2 separate regions of the Homo sapiens genome follow, and region 1 is linked to region 2. The links are contacts of gene promoters, found by promoter capture Hi-C in blood cells and fetal thymus (Javierre and others, 2016). All regions are on one chromosome and are shown on one strand. Each heading gives the region's core, a stretch centred on a gene start or on the middle of the fragment in contact. The rest is flanking DNA. Distances are from core to core; before and after follow the strand shown. Region 1 overlaps LOC124904486 (a long non-coding RNA gene). Region 2 holds the start of ADORA1 (adenosine A1 receptor).

Region 1 (5,773 bases), core at 1,287-3,786, 140 kb before region 2:
CTCCAGGCTCCAGGCGTCTTCTTAGGTTGCCTGCCTGGTAACAACTGTAGTCAGTGTCTCACACAGGCCCCAAAGCTCAGCTAAGTCTCCTCACCTGGGAAAAGGCTTCCTTCATGGGCCCACTCCTCCCTGATTCTCTTGTGTGCCTGAGATCTTTTAACAATAGTTCCCATCACTGGGCAGTGAGTAGATGCCTCATACAGGGAAACCCCTCACTGCTGTACCATGATGATTACAGGACAAGGACTTGGAGCCAGATAGACCGGGATCTGATCCCAGTTCAGCCAATTACTATCTGTCACCTTGGGCAAGCTGCTTAACTTCTCTGAACCTCAGTTTCCAAATCTGTCAGTCAGGATAATAGTTCTTATGGCCTGGGGTTGTGCAGGAATGGAATGGGATAATGCATGGACTCCACGGAGTAAATCGTTTGTGTGATAGTGGCATTATTTCTTCTTTAAATGTCACTGTGACTTACTCTACTACCCTGAGGTCTGGTTCAGAAGTTCTGGTAAGAAGTTACAGGGTGATCCTGTGAGTTTGCATAGAGAAAGCACTCAGACACGGGCTGCAGGAACTGTGGCCACATTTGAGAGCACTTGAGCTACTGCCACACACTTCAGAATATCTGGAGGCAGGAACAGAGAAGGGGAGGTTGTGCATAGTATATTCCAGGCTCTGTGCTAGATCCTTTGCATCGGAGGCTTCAGTTAATACAAATTGTTTGTTGTAAGATAGCATTATCTCCAAGCCTAGAGAGGCCATGAGACTTGCCCGAGGCCAGAATCTAGTGTGGTAGAAGCTGCTAGTCTCCAATAACTTTCTACTATTTTATCAGGGTAAGAAAAGTTGTAGCAGGAAACATGGCTGCCCAGAATGAAGACTGCATTTCCCAGTCTCCTGTGTGGGTAGGCGTGGTCACATGACTGAGTTCTGGCCAAAGAGAAGTAAGTAGACGCGTTATGCAGCAGTGTCTGGGAACCTTTCTTAAGACACAGGTTGTGCATCTGCTGTCTGCTCCTTCTTCTTTGTCCCTCCCTCTGTTTTGCTACTTGGTAGGCAGGTGCTACCTTGTACCATGAGGGCAAGGGCCACTCAATAACAACACAATTGCTGCTGTTGTGAATTTTCTGTTACTCTCATTTCTACCTCATCTTAACTGAGATGCCCTGTGATAGAGTGGGGGATTTGAACCTGAGTCAGTCAGCTGTTTCTCAACACAATGCGAGGTTTCTGGGTCCCCTGTGTGCTCCTGCTGTACCTCATCAGCTCTTAGGTGTGAAGCATCCCTTAGAACTCTGATGAGGTGGCGTTGAAGGAGGGGAGCCACTCTAATGCAGCTTTTCGAACTCATCCATTCCAAAGATGGCTCAGGGCCTTTGCTAGATCCAGAGGCAGCTTGAGGGCGAAAGTCCAGGGCCCTGAGAGGGTGGAAGAGGTGACACTTCTAAGATCCAGGAAACCCCAGCCTCTGCCACAAGACTGGCTGCACAGCTACCCCTGTGGCAGGTGAAGGCAGTGCTCAGGTAGTCCTGGGACTCTTTCTAAACTTCTCTGGCCTGGCCCTCAATGTCCTCTGACAGACTCTAGCTTGCTGGGACACCTCTAAGGAAACTGCCAAGGGAACTGCAGAAGCAGGAGCAGGTGAGAAGTGCCCGGGTGTCTTCTTTCCATGGGGGAATTTGGAGAAGCATTCTGAGCCCAGCAAAGTGTCAGGCAGGCAAGGTAAGGCCTCACCTGATAGGAGGTGTATCCTCGTACCTAGTCTCAGCAAGGAAGGTTGCCAGCTTCATGGCTCTTTTGAGTTAAAAGGGCTGTAAGATCCTTGGTAAACGACCAGAGCCTGAATGTCACAGGGAAGAGGTTGGACTGGGACCCAATACAGCTGCCTATGTATCTGAGAAGACGCTATTTATAAACAGAGAAGGTATTTATTGGCTGGACAATCCTGAGGAAGTCTCCCACTTCTCACTCTCATTCATAAAGTGGGGATCATGATCACTACCTCTCAAGCTTACTGTAACATTGAATGAGGTAATGAATATGAAAACACTCAAAATCTATAAAGTATCTACAAACCTGGAAGATTATAATTCTGCATTTGTACAGTAGAAATAACAGTACCATGGTTGCTATTAGTGCCCAGCCAAATCCCCTTTACTGGTCTGGTGCAACCCTCCATCCCTGCCCACCGGCTGCTGTGAGGTTTGGCTGGTAACAGTTCACAGTTATTCCCTCTGCAGAGACTTCCCCGGGAATGGAAGCTGCCTTACTTGGGGCTTGCAGCCGATGCTTGTCTGACACAGGGGCAGGAAAGGCCAGTCCCCGACCTCAAGACAAGATGAACTCTGGTGTAGCACATGCTTCAGGGATCCCCATGAAATCAGGCCGCAGCTCAGCCACAGCTGACACCACAGCCTGGCTCCCTCCTTCCCCACCCCACTCTCCTTCCTTTTCTTTCTTCTGAGGGTTCTTCCCCAACAGAAGAAGATATGCATGAAATCTGTCCCAGGCTCTGCTTTTAAGGAATCTGGTCCACTTGTCTGCCGTACAAAGTTGCTATGAGGGTTAAATAATATAATACAGATGAAGAGATTAGCCCAGTGCCTGGCATATACAGTGCATATCCAATTAATGTTAAAGATTGCCATTATCCATGAGACTGGAGCATCAGGAACATCTTAGTGTAATAGTGAGGTGTGGAAATCTGGTGAGTGAGTCAGTGGATTGAATTTTACATGCTTAGGGACTGGGGTGGGCAGAGAGAAGGGCAGCTGGGTTTCCTTGGGTATCACTGGTTGTCTCAGCTTTGGGCAGTGAGGGTCCTTTACACAGCTAGGGAAAAGTTCCAGTCATTACATACTTCTACCAGCAGAGGACGCCACTTCCATACAAATAAGTGTTTCCTCTGCTATCTGATGCAGTTTTCATCAAAGCAGTCTAGGCTGGCAGGAAAGATCAGGTACATGACAGAGCAGAAAGTGCCTTCAGATTTGCACAGATAATAGGAGAGGGCAGAACAGGAAGAAACAGTGAGTTAAGCTGTTCAGGAAGCTTCGTGGGAGGTGAGGCCTTGAGCAGGGCACTCTAGCACCAGAAGGAGTATTGAGTGGAGATGGCATTCCCAGGGAAGCCACTACCCTAGGCAAGGTGACCAGGGCCTGAGCCAGGGCCGTGGCAGGGAGGCAGCCACGAGAGGGTATGAAGGACACCAAACACAGGGACAGGACTGATTTCAGCTGAGAGGTCTAGGAGGAGATCATGGGCCCACCAACATGGGGTAGACGTCAGGAAGGAGCACGTTTTTATAGGACAGAGCACACTTCTCCAACTGGTTTGACTGCCCTGTTACAATGTCCTCTGCAAGCCATCATTCTGTAGGATTCCTGTTTTGTGTGGATTCTAGAAACCAGTGAAATATTCAGAGGTGTTAATAGCATCAAGATTTCATTGGTTCTTTCCATTCTTTTTATTTTTATTTTTTGAGATGGGGTCTCAGTCCCTGCCCCAGGCTGGAGTGCAGTGGCACCATCACAGCTCACCACAGCCTCAACACCCCAGGGCTCAGGCGATCCTCCTGCCTCAGCCTCCTGAGTAGCTGAGACCATAGGTACGTACCACCATGCCTGGCTAATTTTACATATATACACATATATGTGTGTATATATAATTATATACGTATATATACACATATATACATATATAATTATATACATATATACATATATACACACACATATATGTGTATATATATACACACATATATATGTATATATACACATATGTATATGTGTGTGTGTGTGTGTGTATATATATATATATATATATATATATATATATTTGAAGAGACAGGGTCTCCTTACGTTGTCCAGACTGATCTTGAACTCCTGGGCTCAAGCGATCCTCCTGTCTCAGTCTCCCAAAGTGCTGGGATTACAGACGTGAGCCACCGCGCCTGGCCAGCTTTTTCCGTTTTGAGTAGAGACGGCAAGAAGCGCCCCACAGCTTGCCCTTGCTTCGGAACTCGGGGTTGTGAATCAGTCAGGATAGAAATTAATGGTGCAGTGGGAATAAAGAGGAATGTTAGATGATCTCGCAGGGGTGGGGGAGAACCCAAAAAGAAAGAACGAACGTGAAGAAGCCTAGCTCTCCGAGACTGGGGTTCAGTCCTTGCTGGAGAAAGTGCGTTGCAGCCCATTGAGGGCAGAAGAGTTCTCTGGGTTGTCCCTGGACAGAACCGGGCCACAGTCAAGAGAGCGAACATTGTGGGGAAGAGAACGGCAGGCCACGGCTCAGGGGCTGGAAGCCCCCTGCTGGGGTGCCCACAAAATTCCTCCGGAAGTTGCTGTTGGGGGATGCGCTGAACTCATGGCAAAGCCACCTAGGACTCACGCAGAACTTGCTGGGAAGCTGCCCCCGGGGAAGTGCGCATGCGGGACTTCGCAGGAAACTGGCTGGGTCAAGTCGGCTCCACCAGGAATCCACCCAAGACGGTGCGGCTGAACTCGCCACTGGGAAACTAAGTGGGACACCCACAGAACTAGCCGTGAAGATGCCTGCGGAAGTGCCCTGAAACTGAGCTGAGAACCCCGGGGGTTCAGAGTCCCGAAAGCAAGTAGGAAGGAAAGCTTAAAGAAACCGCAAGAGAAGTCTCTTCTTCTCTCTGTCCTCTAGCGCCCTCTACTGACACAGTTTAACACTGTGCCCGCTGGCAAGGGAGAAACGTTTGGAGCCAGAGAGTAATAAACTGGTAACTGGTACAGGATGTTAGCCAACTCCACTGAGGATGGGAGAGCTCTTCTATAAGCCCTTTTTGAAAAATAGTACTTGAGGACATAGTCCTGCCAGCTAAGAAACGAATCAAAATAAATAATTCAACAGAAAAAATGTAAAAGAAAAGGCAAAGAACAATCAAATCAATAAAACTAAATGAACGAAATAATTATAATTAATATAATATGAAACTAATCATTATTATTAAAATTAAATATAATAAATATTTCATGATTATAAATTGGGGTTTTTGTATCACAATTTACTTTGACAAAAACTGGGAGGTAGCAAAGAAAGAGTATACTATTAATAAAAAGTGAGAGGTGGCAAAATAGTATGCATGTATCTTATTGATCGATATGGCCTTATTCTTGATGTTAAGACATTTAGGCCGGGCGCGGTGGCTCACGCCTGTAATCCCAGCACTTTGGGAGGCCAAGGCGGGCAGATGGCCTCAGCTCACCAGTTCGAGACCAGCCTACGCCACACGGTGAAACCCCGTCTCTACTAAAATACAAAAAATTACCCGGGCCAGCCGCCCCTTCTGGGAGATGGGGGGGCGCCCCCGCCCGGCAGCCGCCCCATCTGGGAGGTGGGGGGCTCCTCTGCCCGGCCGCCCCGTCTGGGGGGTGGGGGGCCCCTCTGCCGGGCCGCCACGTCTGGGAAGTGAGGAGCCCCTCTGCTCAGCTGCCACCCCGTCTGGGAGGTGTACCCAACAGCTCATTGAGAATGGGCCATGATGACGATGGCGGTTTTGTCGAATAGAAAAGGGGGAAATGTGGGGAAAAAGAGAGATCAGATTGTTACTGTGTCTGTGTAGAAAGAAGTAGACATAGGAGACTCCATTTTGTTCTGTACTAAGAAAAATTCTTCTGCCTTGGGATGCTGTTAATCTATAACCTTACCCCCAACCCGGTGCTCTCTGAAACATGTGGTGTGTCAACTCAGGGTTAAATGGATTAAGGGCGGTGCAAGATGTGCTTTGTTAAACAGATGCTTG
Region 2 (5,574 bases), core at 2,745-5,244:
GATCCCTGCTTGAGAAGTGAGGCCCCAGCAGCCTTTCCCTAACTCAGGAGAAAGGCTCCTCTCCATGGGGCAGGACACTCCCAGGCACTGCTGGTGTGTGGCTGTCAAGGAGCCACGCTGAGCCAGTGGGGGCATCTGTGGTCATGGCCCTGAATCAGAAGTGGGGACAGGTCTAGCCCACAGCAAGAAAGTGAGAGGTTAGACTTCTGGAAGATAGGCTTGAGGCTCAACTGTGTGTGTTCCGTAAACCTGGCCAATTCAATCAACGTTTACTGAGGGTCTGTGATGTGCCAGACACTGAGCTGGGCATTCTGAAGAATTTGCAGAAATAGATAAGATGTGGATGCTGCCTTGAGGCACCAACACTGCACCAGAGGAGTAGAAACATGTATAGATATAACTTCACAGTACTTAGACACCTCCTGGGAGATGTGTTGCGTATGTGTTTGTGTGCGTGTTTCTTCGTGTGTATGTGTTGACACCGAATGACACCTAAGAGCGTGAGTGGCAGGAGTAGGGCTCACCTATCCAGCCACACTTGAGCCATATGTTAATAGTGACAATAAAACTACAAATAAGACCTCCCTATGGCTTGCATATATGAGGCATAATATTAATACAAGTGCTTCGCATATATGAGTTCATTAAATTATTCCAATAACCCTAGGGAGTAGGCACTATTATTAATGTTCCCTTTTATACATAAGGACATTAAAGCTTAAAGCGGTTAGGTAAGTGACTTTTGCACAGCTAGAAATTCCCAGCAAGGATTTGAACTCAGGCCCATGGCAGCCTCTGTGCAGGTCCCTGCCTCCACCCTCAAAGGACAGCTCCCCAGGACCCCAGCTCCAAAGCCACAGCAGCTGCCTCCTGAAGGAATAAGTCTGCTGTTCCCACCAGTGCAGCCATCCCAGCCCCACAGGGCAAGTAGGGTGCATTCTGTCACAGCAAGACGGGACCTTTGGCTCACCTTAACACTCACTCAGCAGACAGAATTTCTCCAGCAGCCTTCCTACAGCTGGACATCTGCATGAGTTTCCAAATGTGGCAACACTTCGTTATAATGGCCAGGCTCAGAGGCCCCGCTCTTCTAATGCACTGAGACCAGCTTTATATGTGCAGCCCAGCAGCAACCTGGGACTAATGGCAGCATGTGGGCCCCTCAGTGGATGAGCCTATGGGGCTTCTGGCTGTGTTCCCTTATTCACCCCACCTTCCCTGGAAAACCTGGAGGGTGGAGGGAGGTAGACAGGGCAGAGAGACTGGCATCAAGCCACTGGGCATGGGGAATCAGGAAGGAAGGCAGATAATTAGATCACACTTCTGAGTGAGCTTCAAGGAGACCCTCTGAGTCTTAGTTTCCCCCTTTAAAAGCTCCTGCTCCACCTCCCTTACAGCGGCGTGATGATAACAGGAAAAAATCATGCATGTAAGAAAGGCTTTGAAAAGTTAAATGTGCACAAATGTAACACAAAGGGAGAAACATGGGTCCCTAGGCCTGCCCGGGCAAGGGGCCAAGTGAGGTCAGAGGCCCTACATCCCAGAGAAGCTATGCCGGGGGTGGCAGGTGCTGGAGATGGCCAGAGCTCCCCAGGAGAAAAGGAATCTACTGGGGGCAAGAATTCAAAGAGGGGGCAAGCATGCCTCACAAGAGCGTCCCAGCAGGGCCAGTCCCTGGCAATATGCCCAGGCACTCGCTGGCACTTGGTGGCCCAAGGCACTGCCTGGTGATGAGATTGTGGCCTGGCAGGGAGCTCCAACATGGGCTGGACACCCACACTGAGGACGGCACCAGCAGGCCACCCATCCCAGTGCTGCCTGGGAGCAGCACAAGCACCTCTACTGTGACCAGCAAAGAGGTGGTTTTGCAACAGAACAGCAATATGAGAAGTAGGCACCAGCATTTTTCCTTCCTCCTGTCTGTAACAGAGGTCCCATAAGTGGGAGTGAGGCAAAGGTAATCAGACTGTTGGGTTCAGCTGGAAAGCCCTGGAAGGAACAGCTGGCTAGCACAGAGATACCTGGTGAATGAGAGAGCCAAAGCGTGCCTTTGGGAAGCCTGCCGTGGTCTGGCTGGAGAAGCAGCACTCCTGCCCCTGTTGTGCCACCCTCAGTATGTTCCCACCCCACCCTAACTCTCTTCTCTGCCTCTTCCTCTTCCTCTTCCCTGGGACTGGCAGAGCTCAGCTCATTCCTACCCAGCACTCACTGTGACCCCATCTTAGTGGCTCTTCCAAATCTCCCACCTCCACCCCAGGCCTGACAGGCAGCCTCAGGTTCCCTGGCTGCAAGAGCTTCAGCTCTGAGGTCATGGGCACTGGTAAGTTCACAGTACAGTCCTCCAGCCACCCATCCCCCTCCTGTTTCTCTGGCCCTGCAGAGCGGAGCACGGAAAGGCAGAGTGAGGACTGGAGCACGATGGCCCAAAGAACATCTGGCTTACTTGGGGTCTTATGCTCTACCTTTTTTCCTTTCTAGATGGCCCTCAAGCCAGCCATCATGTGGTGCTGCGAGTACCTTCGGCGCTGTGGACTCACCGGAGAGGGATCTTGACCCGGAGGTAGCGGTCCACAGCAATTGCCAGCAGGGCCAGGATGGAGCTCTGGGTGAGGATGAGGACCGGACAGGCAACCATGAGGCAGGTGTGGAAGTAGGTCTGTGGCCCAATGTTGATGAGGATGGCGAGGGGGATGACCAGGGCACCCACGGCCACATCAGCCACCGCCAGCGACACGATGAAGCAGAAGGTGGCATCCCGCAGCGCCTGGTTCACCTTCACCGCCCAGATCACCAGCACGTTCCCGGGCACAGAGACCAGGGCGATGAGCACCTCGATGCCGATGTAGGCGGCCTGGAAAGCTGAGATGGAGGGCGGCATGGCGGGCACAGGCTGGGCACATCAGCAGACGGGCACCAAGGGGCACGAGGCAAGCACCTGTGTGGTCAGGGAAGCCTGGGATGGGGAGACCCGTCTGGGAGGGGCAGGGAGCTCAGGCTGCCCTGGAACTCCAGGTACCCTGTGATGTGTCCCACTTGTCACATGCAGCTCCTACCCAGGCTGGAGGGGCACCCGGACCCTTCTCTGCCTAATCTTTGTCCCTTCCCTTTATCATTCCCAGAGGTTCCATTCAGCAACTTAAAATAGCAGCGCTCACTCCTCCACTGGCTTTTTTATCAGGTGTGAGGCAGCTCCCAGCGCGCGCGCACACACAGACACACGCACAGAGGGGTCTCCCATGACTGGCTCTGCCCACCCCTGTGCACAGAACAGGATGCAGGGAGCTCACCATCCTGCCTGCTGGCCGGCAGGGGTCCCAGAGGCAGTGCCCAAAGTTCCAGGGAACAGAGCTCCGGGCCGCGCGCGGTAGGGCTGGGCTGGGCTCTGGACAACGCGCGGCAGCTCATAGTCCTCCGGCTCCCGCCGCAGCGCTCCCAGCCCGGCCTTTCAAGCAATCACATGGTACGGCAGAGACTCAGCCCCGGACGCTTTTAAAGAGGTAGCGCCCCTGTTTCGCACCTGGGACTGGGGTGGCAGACGTGGGTCTGGGGACGGAGCCCAGGACAAGGCTGGGGCGTTTCTCCCTATTCCCCAGCGTGCCCGCACCTGCCCTGCGCCCACCCACTTGAGACCCGTCTGGTGCCTGGATCTTAGCAGTCCTCTGGTCCCGTTCCAGCTCTGTCGGGGAACCTTGCCCATGGCCTGCCCCAAGGGGGCATTCCGGTCTCTTCTTTCAACCCTCTCCTGCACCCCCATTGGGGAGCCCCAGGGGTGAACCGAGACTCAGACTTACCCAAGGTCACCAAAGCTGGCAGAGCTCCCGGCTGCCTGACTGTTCTGTCCAAGTGCCCCCACACCTCGACGCCTTCAGCAGCCGCTAGCTCCAGGGATTCCTGGGGAAGCCAAGGCCGGCCGGTAAGCTCCAGAGGGATGGTAGCTGGCTGGGACTCGACTCGGGCGCCTGCGGCTCTGTCGCCCCCGGCGCAGGAGCTGAGTGACAATCGGGCTCCGCACACCGGGAGGGGGCGGGGGCGGCGGCGGCACCCGCCAGCCCCTCCCTCCTCATCCTCCGTCTCCTCCCCCACCCCCTCCTCTTAACAAAGGAAGTGATACTGGGTGAGAAAAGCTGGAAAAAATGTGAGCTTTTCGAAGGGCCTGGTGTGTGCGCCCAGCCTCAGGACTGGACAGAGGCGCATCCTTCCTGTGTCCACTCTCTCCCTTCTCAATGCAGGACTCCTGGGAGCCCTGGTCTGGCCTCCAGCGACCCCTCACCCCTCACGGCACAGCATCTCTTCTGCAGGACTTCAGAATGCCCCCTCTGGGATCTCCCAAAGCAGTCGGTAGCCCTGGCACCCTCCCCCAATCCTAAAACCCTGCTCTCTCCATGAAACCAGTCCCTGCATCTTCTCATCCCATATTGTTTTGCAGGCTCTACCCTGAGTCATTATATTCCTTTCTCATCCATCTTTCAGAATTGCCTTTTAGTCTATTAGCAATTTCTATTTTGCAGATAAGGATGCTGAGGCTCAGGGAAGTGACCTAGCTTCCCAGGATCTCCTGGCAGTGTAACCCGCTCTGCGCTCCTTTTCCTTCCTCCTTCTTCCTCTTCATAGCACAGCGCTAAGCCATAAGGCATCCAGTCCAATCCCCTCATGTTACAGATAAAGAAGCAGGCTCAGGGAAGCAAGGGACTTCCGGAGGGTCACAGGGCAAATCCTAACAGGACCAAAATAAGAATCCCAGGCTCCTGACTCTCTCCACTGGGTCCAGACCCCTCCCCTGGCCACCTTCTGCCAGTTTCGGTTTAGGCAGTCCACTGATATTAACTAATGACCAGACCCTGGACATGGATGGATGCCTCGCAGAGATCCCAACCTGAGAAATCCTTGTTTGTGGGTATTGGGCAAGGGTTCTAGGAAGGCAAAGAGAGTCAGGCTGGGGACCCCAATGTTAGCTAGCCACAACCCAACCTGGCCTCTGGGGGTACTGCCCCCCTCACTGGATCTCAGAATGCAAGGAAAAGGGTTCTGCCCAGAGGAGGGTGGGCACGTTGCTCCCATTGGGGGCTGCACTGAATCACAGTGAGGAATGATGTGGGACCCGGAACCTGGGTAGCTGGGAGGCAGGGAGGAAGGGCAGTTGAGTCTTCTGAGGAGGAGGGGGAAGCCCTCTGTGGGGAAAAATAACTTCCATTTCTGCCTTTAGGGGGAGCAAGGAATCAGTGCCTCAGACAGCAAAATTACATTCCTTCCCTAGAAGCTAGTTGGAGAAATTAGGAAGTGTAAACTCTCCTTCCTCCTCGTCCCCTTGCACTTCCCCTGCTGACTTTGTCAACACGCCCAACAGCACCTGACGTCCTGCCTACTCCCCCTGCCACCCAGACATGCAGGCCTTTGCGACCATCCCCTGCCTCTCCACCCTTTGCTTGACTTAAGCCATTTTTGGCTCAAGGCTTTCTCTCTCAGTTTACACTCAGCTTCCCAATGGTCACTCAACTAGATGTCAGAAGAGACTGTGAAGACCCAGATGGGCCCAGCTTGGGGACGGGGATGGGTGAGTGGGGTCACCCTGTCTAA

Evidence for each region. The method cuts DNA at HindIII sites, captures the fragments that hold promoters and counts their contacts. A CHiCAGO score of 5 or more calls a contact.
Region 1: a contact is called between a fragment that was not itself captured here and the fragment with the promoter of ADORA1 in region 2, in 3 of 17 cell types (M1 macrophages, M0 macrophages and M2 macrophages). The highest score is 10.8, in M1 macrophages.

Annotation. Positions count from the first base shown.
Region 1 is chr1:203,266,355-203,272,127 of GRCh38, reverse strand. It overlaps LOC124904486 (a long non-coding RNA gene), which reads left to right. Exons shown (of 2, transcript XR_007066798.1): 2 at 1-5,014. Among named protein-coding and RNA genes, the nearest start is that of LINC01353, 18 kb to the left of the region's middle. The HindIII fragment of the contact is 1,041 bases long and covers 2,016-3,056 here.
Region 2 is chr1:203,126,146-203,131,719 of GRCh38, reverse strand. It overlaps ADORA1 (adenosine A1 receptor), which reads right to left and starts at 3,994. Exons shown (of 4, transcript NM_000674.3): 1 at 3,792-3,994; 2 at 3,288-3,442; 3 at 2,538-2,935. The coding sequence starts at 2,878. RefSeq lists an enhancer at 3,290-4,270. The HindIII fragment of the contact is 5,732 bases long and covers 720-5,574 here.